2 separate regions of the Homo sapiens genome follow, and region 2 is linked to region 1. The links are contacts of gene promoters, found by promoter capture Hi-C in human tissues and cell types (Jung and others, 2019). All regions are on one chromosome and are shown on one strand. The core of a region is centred on a gene start or on the middle of the fragment in contact, and the rest is flanking DNA. Distances in the headings are between cores, read along the strand shown.

The links. Contacts are between HindIII fragments. The study calls those that stand out against the background at their distance.
Region 2: a fragment that was not itself captured here is called in contact with the fragment with the promoter of LGI2 in region 1 in 2 of the 25 tissues and cell types used here (H1 embryonic stem cells and dorsolateral prefrontal cortex).

The regions. Positions count from the first base shown.
Region 1 is chr4:25,029,367-25,034,533 of GRCh38, reverse strand. It overlaps LGI2 (leucine rich repeat LGI family member 2), which reads left to right and starts at 3,588. Exons shown (of 8, transcript NM_018176.4): 1 at 3,588-4,037. The coding sequence starts at 3,841. LOC124900684 (a long non-coding RNA gene) reads right to left here and starts at 4,426. Exons shown (of 2, transcript XR_007058083.1): 1 at 4,301-4,426. The HindIII fragment of the contact is 9,452 bases long and covers 1-5,167 here.
Region 2 is chr4:24,927,667-24,932,788 of GRCh38, reverse strand. It overlaps a transcript of CCDC149 not described here. Among named protein-coding and RNA genes, the nearest start is that of CCDC149, 17 kb to the right of the region's middle. The HindIII fragment of the contact is 7,343 bases long and covers 153-5,122 here.

The DNA.
Region 1 (5,167 bases), core at 2,339-4,838:
GATTATTGAATCAGCAGCGTGGTGGTTTCCCCCATAGTGTTCTCGTGTTAGTGAATAAGTCTCACAAGATCTGATGATTTTGTAAGGAGAAACCCCTTTTGCTTGGCTCTCATTTTCTCTTGTCTGCCACCATGTAAGACATGCCTTTCACCTTCCACCATGATTTTGAAGCCTCCCCATGAGGCCATGTGGAACTATGAGTCCATCAAACCTCTTTTTCTTTATAAATTAACCAGTCTCCAGTATGTCTTTATCAGCAGCATGAAAATGGACTAATACACACCTAAATTAGGTCTCCCCTATTCTCTTCCTTCATAGGCTCTATCAAAATTTGCAATTGCATACTCATGTATGCATTCTTTTAATTTAATATCTGTCTGCAATGAAAGTGGGGATCATGTCTGTCTTGGTCATTGTTTTATTATTGATGCCCAGCACATAGTAGGTTCTCAGTTAATACTGACAGAATTAACTGACAAGTAGCTGAACATGAGGGTACATGAACACATGAATGAATGCCATTTTGAGCTGCCAACACATGGAGTCATATAAAGTAGAACCGGTTTGAGACTTTAGAGAAGGCCACTCAAGCCTACGCCATTTCAGCCACTGTAGGAACGTGTGTTATTCATGTCATAAAGACATAGCTTGAGTAAGTTTACGTCTCAACAAGGATTTTTACAAAGATTTTTCAAAAACTCTTGCTATTTCCTGAAACAGATTGTGTCTCTCTGATTGTCTATTAAGTTTTTTTTTAAACTGCTGAGGAACTTGGAACCACACCAAAGTAATCTGCATTTCCATTTTTATATTTTAATTTATAAACTGCGCCTTATAATTTACAAGCACTCACTTACTTAGTGTCTCTAGCAGAGCCGAAACAAATACTAACTCTGCCAGCTATGCTACTCTGGCCTACTTTCTGCACCATTCCTATCAGGAACTTTTTAGTTTTTTGGGGTGGAGAGGGTGGGCTGGAGCTAGCTCTAGCTGTTGGAAGTTAAGGTTAGGAACAATGATGATATGTCACATTTATTTAGGAAAGGGTGCAGAAGGGCTCTTTATCCCCATTTTATAGATGAAAAAATAGAAGCTAGAGATGGGAATAACATGACCAAGAAGGTTTGCTTGTGATTGATGAACCTGACTTACAATCTGCATCTCTGGAATTCCTCATGCCAAGGGTCTTTCCAGAACACTAAGCCAGGCTCTCTCAACCTTGGCTCTAGCAACATTTTGACCTGGATCATTCTTGCTGAGTACTGCAAGATGTTTAGTAGCGTCCCCAGCCTCTACACATTAGACGCCAGGGGCACCCACCCCAAATATCTCCACACATGGCCAAGTGTCCCCTGAATTACCCGCAATTGAGAACCACAACACAAGACAGTGACTCTGATTACAATGGAAGGACAGAAGTCAGGAAAACCCATCTCCCTCCATAGTCCTCTCTCCGTCACTTACCTACAATCTAGTCACATAGAACTCTGCTCAAACGCCCAGTGCCTCCTTTGTGGTATTAAATGCTTTACTTTCTTGATCTCATTTAACCCCCAAATGTGGTTACAACAACCTCTTGTTTACAGGTGAAGAAATGGAGGTTTAGAAAGATCACAGCTTGCACAGCAGTAAGTGGCAGGCTGGGATTACACAATTACACATCAGTAAGTGGTAGGCTGGGATGCAAACCCCAACCTGTCTAGTCCTGAGGCCAGCATTTAGCTATGCCACCCTGCCCCCAGGCTCTCACTCAGAGGTGAGAAATAGATTTTCTTTTCCTGGGTCAGCAGGGAGTGCTCTGTTTGAGAAGCCTCCGTTCCTCTGCTCTATAAAGCAGTAGCCCATCCCTCTTAAGGGAAACATCTTTCAGGTGCACAGCACACACATCCACGATTGTGGGTCTGCATGTCTGTCGCCCTCCCAGGCTGTGGTCTGTGTCCTCAGCCCCTAACACTGGGGCTTGCTGAGTAAAGTATTTGTAAATGCATGCCCACACAGCAGCGAGGGTTAGACACAGCAGCCAGTTGTGGAGTATGATCTCCCTGGCCATGTCCTGTGTGATCTTGGACAAGATAAAAACTTCTCTGAGCTCAATGTTCCCATCCATAAAATGGGAGGACCCATTTCTCAGGACAGATGCAAGAATTAAATGATGATAAATGCAGGCTGGTTTGTACTGATGCCAGGTGCTTTTTACATAGTCACCAGCAGGGAATGTCTAACTCCCTCCATGAAGTTGCCTACGCAAAGCTCTCTTTCAATTCCTGAACCTCTTTTGGTCAGTCTGTGACCCCCTTGTAGCCAGTGGAGTTGCTCTTTTAGGGTTGTCTGTCCAGCTAGACTTTTAGCTCCCTGAGGACAGGAGCTGTTCCTTTGTTCCCTCCCACAGCAGCCAGCCTGATACCGTCCTCATGGATCTTGTCAATGGATCACCAACAATAATTGCTGAAGAAGCAATAGTATGATTCCTACTTTTGCATTCGATACTGACTTTTCTGAGTAGGTTTTAGCATCTGGCATGCTTTTCCTTGGTTTGCAGCTCGACAGTCGTGCTGTGATTCCCTTCTCCCAGCAGTTCAGGTTATTAGCCATTACTTTGTTTCCGCTTTGGTCATTTTCTTTGATTTCCTCAGCCGCACATTACCTGTGTTAAGATTTCCGCTCATTGCTTCAAACTTAAGGAGTTGAAGAGGGGCTCAGGAGGGCCCAGTTAAGGTAGCCCTTCAAGGCTCCGAGCCCCATCCTGCCCAGCCAGGAGCTGCTGGACCATCAGCCAGTCAGGATGCTTTCTGGGCGTCAGCAGCCTCATCAATAAATTAAGGATATAAGTAGGACCTGCCTCAAAAGGTTAGAAGATTAAAAGTACAGTGGCTAGAATGTATCACACCCTCAATCTCTACAAACCCTCCTCTGACTGGGGCGGGTGGGGTGACCCGTGGGCAGCTGAGCGAGGGGAAACTTTCCCGGGCTTTCCAGCTCTTTAGCAGGCAGCAGGCAGGGCCCAGAGCGCCGGGCGTGCAGGCTGCAGCGGCTTTGCTTCCCCACGTTCCTCCCATGGGAGGACTGGCTGGCTTCAGTAACCCCTGGTGCTGTGGGAGCGAGAGCCAGACCTCACTGCCCCACCGCAGAAGACAAGCAAAGCCATCCTCGCTGACCCTACCGGCAGCATGCACTTCAAAATTAATAAAGGCTGCTCCAAAGTCTCTCCTCTTCAAAGCACCCAGGGCTGCCTCCCTCCCCAGTAATCAAGCCGGTTCTCCACACTCCCCGCTCCGACTTTATTGATTTGCCTGAAAGGAACCCAGTGCCCTCCCCAGATTATACCCCTGGAGGTATTGCAGGCATCGGATCCTCCACCGCTCAGTCAGGCCCCGACGGGGGTCTCCGCCAGGCTTGGCCCCTCCCCCAAGGTCACCCAACTTTTCCCTCTGTCCCCGCGCCCGGCCCGGGGCGAGAGGGGGTGGCGAGGTGGGGGCCGGGTGGGGCGCCACGGGGCCGGCGCTGGCCCCCTCCCCCGCGGGGCGGGCCCCGCCATGCATTATTCATTGGCCAGAGCCGGGCTGCGGGCGCGAGTGCTGATGTCAGGCAGGCGCGAGTGCGGCGGGCGCAGCGGCGGCGGCCGCCCAGCAGCCCGGGCTCGGGTGGGGGGGCGCCGAGTGGGGGTGGCGGCCAGCATGCTGCTCGGCTGCGGCTCGGCCTCCCACACCCGCGGCTCCCTAGTCCTCGCCAGCAGCGGCGGCGGCAGAGCAGCGAGCGGCGCCCGCGTCTGCAGCGGCGCCGGGTCCGAGCGCGCGGCGCGGCGGTGGGGGTCGGGGCCCGGGCGGGGAGCGGGGACCGGGCATGGCGCTGCGGAGAGGCGGCTGCGGAGCGCTCGGGCTGCTGCTGCTGCTGCTGGGCGCCGCGTGCCTGATACCGCGGAGCGCGCAGGTGAGGCGGCTGGCGCGCTGCCCCGCCACTTGCAGCTGTACCAAGGAGTCTATCATCTGCGTGGGCTCTTCCTGGGTGCCCAGGATCGTGCCGGGCGACATCAGCTCCCTGTGAGTGGGACCCCTCCAGCCCCCATCCCGTCCCGCCCCACCCTGCGTCCGCCGCCGCGAGGGAGTTGCCTCTGGCGCCGGGCCAGCGCGACCCTGACCCACTCCCCAGGCCCCTTCTTTGCCTTTGTGTGGGGGACGTGGGTGGAGTGTTGGCCCCCGGGGAGGACGGTGAGGACCTGAGCCCCAGAATCTGGGAACCCAGACAGGTTCCTGTGGCAGCGTTTCTCAGAGTGTGGCCCACGGGCCACCTGCATCAGACTCACCTGGGGAAGCTTGTGCCAATGCAGAATCCAGCTGCTCTGAAGCAGTCTTTGGAGTGGAGTCCTGGAGTGTGCGTTTGACGTCCCCGGGAGACTCAAGGGTGCATTAAAGTTTGAGAGGGCGTGTGCGTGTGTGTGTGTGTGTTTGCGGGTTGGAGTTGTGTGTGTAGGGGCGTGCATAGGAGCAGCTGAACACGACCTGACTGAGTGCAAACTGGGCAGGGTGAGGCCTCACTGCCCCACATCAGGTCTGGGGCGAATGTTCACCCCGTGGCCTCCTCCCGACTTCTCCACATTGCAGGTTGCAAAAAGTCGAGGTCAAGGCATGCAGGCTCTGGGAGGGGAGGGGCCGCCCCCCGTGGCCTAGAAGAGGGGTAACAGAAGGCTGGGCAGAGGTTTGGGGCATGTTGGGCGCCTAGCCCAGTGGCCAAGTGCTTTGAAGTCAGCCTTCTTGCCCTGAGGTCAGGAGGGCTTCTTGCCCCCTTTCTCCATCACACAGTTGTGTTGGCTGCTTTTTCAGCAGGAGGAACTGACAGGAAAGGGCTTCACATTAGGTATCCACCTGCCGAGAGGTGCTTTCATCCTGCCCTCACCTGGCCACTCAAGCCAAATGACCAGCTCTCACAAGGGCGGTGGAAGGGGCTGTTGGGCTGTATCTTTACTGCTAGGACATGTTTCCTGCTAAGACCACTCTCTTGTTCCAGGCCAAGATGCCTGGGTGCCCAGTCAGTGGTGGAGGCAGGGAATCCCCGGGGTGACGTTGCTTGTGCTCAAGATACTTTCTTGTGTCCAGTGCTTCCCAGCCTCCCACCCAAGGCAAATTGTAGGGGCCTGGACCCAGGAGTGAGGGGGTTCCCATTTGCATTTATA
Region 2 (5,122 bases), core at 2,575-5,074, 100 kb after region 1:
CTCTGACTAATGTTTTCCCTGGTGTTTTCAGGTATTCTGCCCTATTCATTTCACTTTGGAAGCCAGTGCTGGGTTGCAATTTAATTTTTCTAAATTTAGTCTGTAGAAGGCTCATGACCAATGGGAGGGGATTACAGCTTACCAGGAATCCACATTTAAAGAAAAGGAAAGTCGTCTCTGGGGATCTGGATTTATTTACAGAGTTTGAGGACTCAAAAGAAGACCAAATAGACTTAGCAGCCACACTTCCTTACTTCAATTTAACAGTCTCTTAAGCACAAAATCAAACACAATATAAATAAAGTGGCTTGACTCTTTCCTGAGTGTCTTACCTTAACTTCTCCTGTCTTCTGTCTTGCTGTCCCCTAGGTGTTCCCAAAGTCCCCATTCTATCTTCTGTGAAGACCTCTAGCTTTTAAAGGAGAAATAATCACATCTCCTAAAGTGATTCCTGGTACAGCTGGAGCAATCTGGCAGTGCTGAAACTTAAATTACTAAAAGATCAGATCTGTTGAAGATTTTCATTAGAAAAGGTACTAATTGTATGCAGTGTCTTTTGGAAAACCTGTTAGGTGCCTAAAACTGTACTTGGCATTATGACAAATACAGAAACAAATCAATTTTATATTTTAGTCTTTGCTAACAAGGAAGTTAAAAATAGAAGCCACAATATAATATAATAGTTTAGAGCAAGCACTGTGGAACTAAACTGGCTGTGCTAGAATCCTGTTAGAACACTTACACTTTCTGTGTCTCGGTTTTCTCACCTGTAAGCCTTTCTGTGCCTCAGTTTTCTCACCTGTAAGTTGGACACAAAAAGTGTAGCTACTTCATAGGGTTACTATGAGGATTTAAATGAGTTAATAAATATAAACAGAAGAGTGTCTGACATAGTAAGTGATTTTTATTTTATATAGACATGGATATGGATTATGCATATATATATATATATATATATACATACTCTCCATACAATATAAGGGAGGAACATATTACAGTGCTGCCAGAATTCAGAGGCAGGAGACATTGTTTGTAGCCAGAGGAAACCAGGAAGGCTTTCTGGAAGATGCATAAGTGGCAAAGACAATAATGCTCATAAAAATATGCACTGCATAACCTCCACCTGCTTGATCCCCAGTGCTTTTGCAATTAGGGTCATGTGACTAGTTCTAGCCAATTCGATGTGTATAAAAGTGCTGGCTCATTTGGCCTCTCTTCTCTTCTGCTGCAGTGAATGAGAAGGTCACTAACCCCAGGTGTTGCAGCTAAAGATGTTAGAAAGCCCATCAGCCTGGGTACCTGAGTGGTGGTGTAGAGCAGAGACACATCCCCCCACCCAAACACACACACCTCACAATGGATATGTAGTAGGAGCAAAATATAAACCTATCATGTGCTAAGGCACTGGGAGTTTAGGCTTAATTTTGCTCTGTGGCATAGCCTTGCCTGTACTGAGATATATATATATATATATATATTTTAAAATAAATAAACATATATAAATACACATATACATACACAGATACATATGCATATTATACAATATATACAAATATTTTATAATACATTATGTATGTATACATATACATATATATATATACACACATATACATATATATGATGATCATGGTGGAACAGCCTAAAAAAATAGAAATGGGACAAAGTACAGCATATTGAACACATATTTGATTAGAAAGAAAAGCTAGGGTTACATCACTGTAGGCTTTAAATTCCAGACAAAAGAGTTTAGACTTTATTCCACGAGGCAAGAGGAAACCATTAAGTATGTGTTACCTGGAATAATTACACCAAGCAGGTAGTACCAGTGAGAATCCTTTGAAGAGCAAGAGCCTTCTATAATTTTAGGTATGAGTTTGTGCCAGAGGGTCCCTCCCTTCTCTAGCTCAGAACACCAGAAGTTTGTTTTATAAGTTAGTATCAAAAAAAGTTAAATTTTATGATCTCTAAAACAGAAATTTTTTATCATGATTTCTAACTTATCTCTATAAACTCTCCCTGTCTAGAGTAGCAGGAACCCTCTTGTTTGCTGTTGAAACTGGAATAATATCTCAGTATGACAACTTCTAGGAAGAACAACCAAAACCTTTTCTGCTTCCCCTCATTGAGGGGGCAGGGAGTTGGGGAGTGGCTGAGTGAGAACATTTCTGGAAATGGGAGTGGTCTTTAAATACCCTACAACAAAAATTAAAATTTTAAAGTGGACATATTTGTGCCCAAAGTAGAAAAAAATCATTTGCCTAAGAAAACCAAGAATCGTAGTTTTTGTACTTTTTCAGCAATAGTAAAGCCTATTTATTACACTGGTTAAGGTAATCCTAGCTGCTGTAATCATTCTGTTTATGTAATCACATAAACCCAAAATTGTGCAATGGCTGAAACATGGGACACATTTATTTCTTACACAGAATCCCAAAATGGTGCTTCTGAATGGTAGGTGGCTTCCCTCCATGTGATGACTCAGGGATGCAAGCTCTTTCAGTCTCCTGGCTCTGCCAGCTCCTAGCTGTGGTTTCCAAGGTCACCATGCTTACCTGTACCAAGCTGGCAGAGGGGAAAGGAAATGGAAGGTCATGCATGGAGATTTAATGCAGGTTTAAAAGTGGCACACATCATTTCTGTTCACTTTCCACTCACCCAGTTACAGGGTCTCCTCCAGCTGAAAAACAGGCAAGTAAATGTCATTTGTCTGTATGTCCAGGAAAAAGAGGAAAGGTGTAAAAGTGTTTGGAGAATCATAGCAGGCTTTGATAAACACTTTTCTTGTCAACACATTCTTGTCTATTAAAAGAATGATAGTAAACTTCTAGTTTCTTGTTCTTTCCATAGACATTTGTTGAGCACCTGCATTCAAAGTGCATGCTTGTTGGTTGATGGGGGGAGAGGCAGAGAGTCAGAGAGACGGTCTAAAGTTCATAATCAGGTAGGGAAAAAATATTATATAAGCAATAAAATATAAAGCAGAAAATGACAAGAGCTCCCAAAGAGGCTCAGATAAGACTTTTCAGGAGTTCAGAAGCAGGGCTAGCTGGAAGATTCTGCGATGTGAGTGGGTGTTCTAGGCAAAACATAAGCAGAGGCACAGAGGGAGGAAATCAGGAGGTCTTTAGGACAGAAAGTCAGAGATTCACTTGGACTGCGGTGAAGGGTGTAAGAAGAGGAGAGACAGAGTTTACGTTGGAAAAGGGTGTTGAGGTCTGATCTTTCAAACTCTCCATAATCACACATGATGTGCATTTCTGAGAGAGGCTATTCAATCACCTATCTCCACAGTTTCTATTTTTTCCCATCTACTTTTCATTAAGCAGGTACCCTGCCCCCTTTCCACTTCAAATAATTATAAAGATGATTATGGAAATGATAGCGGTGGTGGCGCTAAGGATTAGGAGGGAGAAGAGATTTTGTAAAATTTTCTCATCTACCCAGAAATCTTTCTGCCTCTGAGAAGAATCCTGGAGACCATGATTCATGAGCCGCTGAGAGCCGATTCCCACTCCCTGGGAGCCCACATGAGAAAAAGTGCTGCAGACGACGGGCTGTTTTTGAGAATCAGCAGAGCAGGGCTGCTTGGCAATCAGTTTAGGAAACACAGAAGTCATAAACCAGCACATTTAGGCCAGCTTGGAATGGGACCAAGCATCTTCACCAGACCATGGGATGGCAAAACCCTGGTGTAGAGGCTAGATTTCCATACCTTGGCCTTTCATAAAAGAACCAGTGGATAAAAGCTCTCTGCAAAAAGGGCACTGATTCTTTGTTTAAATTAGGCGGACACATAGCTCAATGCATGACACTGTAGCAACCTGGCAGATGAAGTTTAGCAATAATGCAAGATCATTTCAGTTGACCATAAATGTCACCTGAAAAGGGGAAGTGTGCTGCCCCGCCTGTCACATGAAGTTCACCCCATTCCTCTTGTTCTTTGCCTTCCTGACCTTCTGGACTCATTTCAGCTTTTGGACACATTAGGGAGTGACAGGAAGACACCTCTGCCCTGTGAAGACCATGACAGCACCTGTGTCAGTTTCCTAGGGTTGCTGTAACAAATTACCATGAACTCAGTGGCTGAAAACAACAGAAATTTATCTTTCACAGTTCTGGAAGAGCATTCCAAGCAGGGGATCCCTGAGGTGGGAAAGGGCCAGGTGAGTGTGATTGGAGCAAAGAAAGCAAGAACAAGAGTAGTAGGAGCTGAGAGGGGATTCTTGGATCACCCAGTCATGGTTAGATTCATATATTGACAATGAGAAGGAGTCAGTGATTTCATGAAGAAAATGAAAAATACTGGTGGTCCATGTTAAGCCTTCGACTTTTATGCATACCATCCATTCTGTTGGAATTCCTAGGCATCCTTCAGGAAAAGCTTGTGCCCACTTTCCCTCACAATGCCCTACCCTCTCCTCCCCTTCGCCATCTTCTCCTTCCTGGGCACCTGCATCATCAACACATAGTATTAATCTTAACCTCTTTTATGCTATCACAGTCCAATGTACGTGTCTCTAGAAAAATACCGAGCATGTTGCTTTGCACACAGTAATCCCTGAATAGTGTTTTCCTTCTTTATCTCTTAAAATCCTTACCACAATTTCAAGAATTTTCACTGCAAATCAAATTTGAACTGAGTTTTTAGGGAAGTCCAAGTTTATATGCAAAGACATAAAGATGTAATAGAATCCTTTCAAAGAACTCTCTTGCTAATGCTCAATCACAGCGAACAATGTATTGCCTGACATTTTCAGATTCCCAGACCAGACATAGAATGTGATAGAGGGAGGAAAAGGGGTGAGCCATTTTATAGAGGTTTTTTTGGTTCTATCCTTCTTCTAGACTCTATTCATGGGGCAAAAGGAAGAAATTCACTTAGATTTCATGGATGTGCACAGGTATAGGTACGCTGAGTTTTTTTTCAAGCCAAGCATATATATATCCCCTGTAAAGATCTAAGGAACTCTTAAAGGACTCCAGGGTGATACAGGAAAGAATGTATGTGTGTGTGTGTGCATGAGTGTAGAGAGAACCAGAGTTGGTGTATGTTGGAGATGGAGGAGGAGGTGGTAGATCAAGTTAATATAAGGAAGTTTAATAGGCATTTGACTGCTTAGCC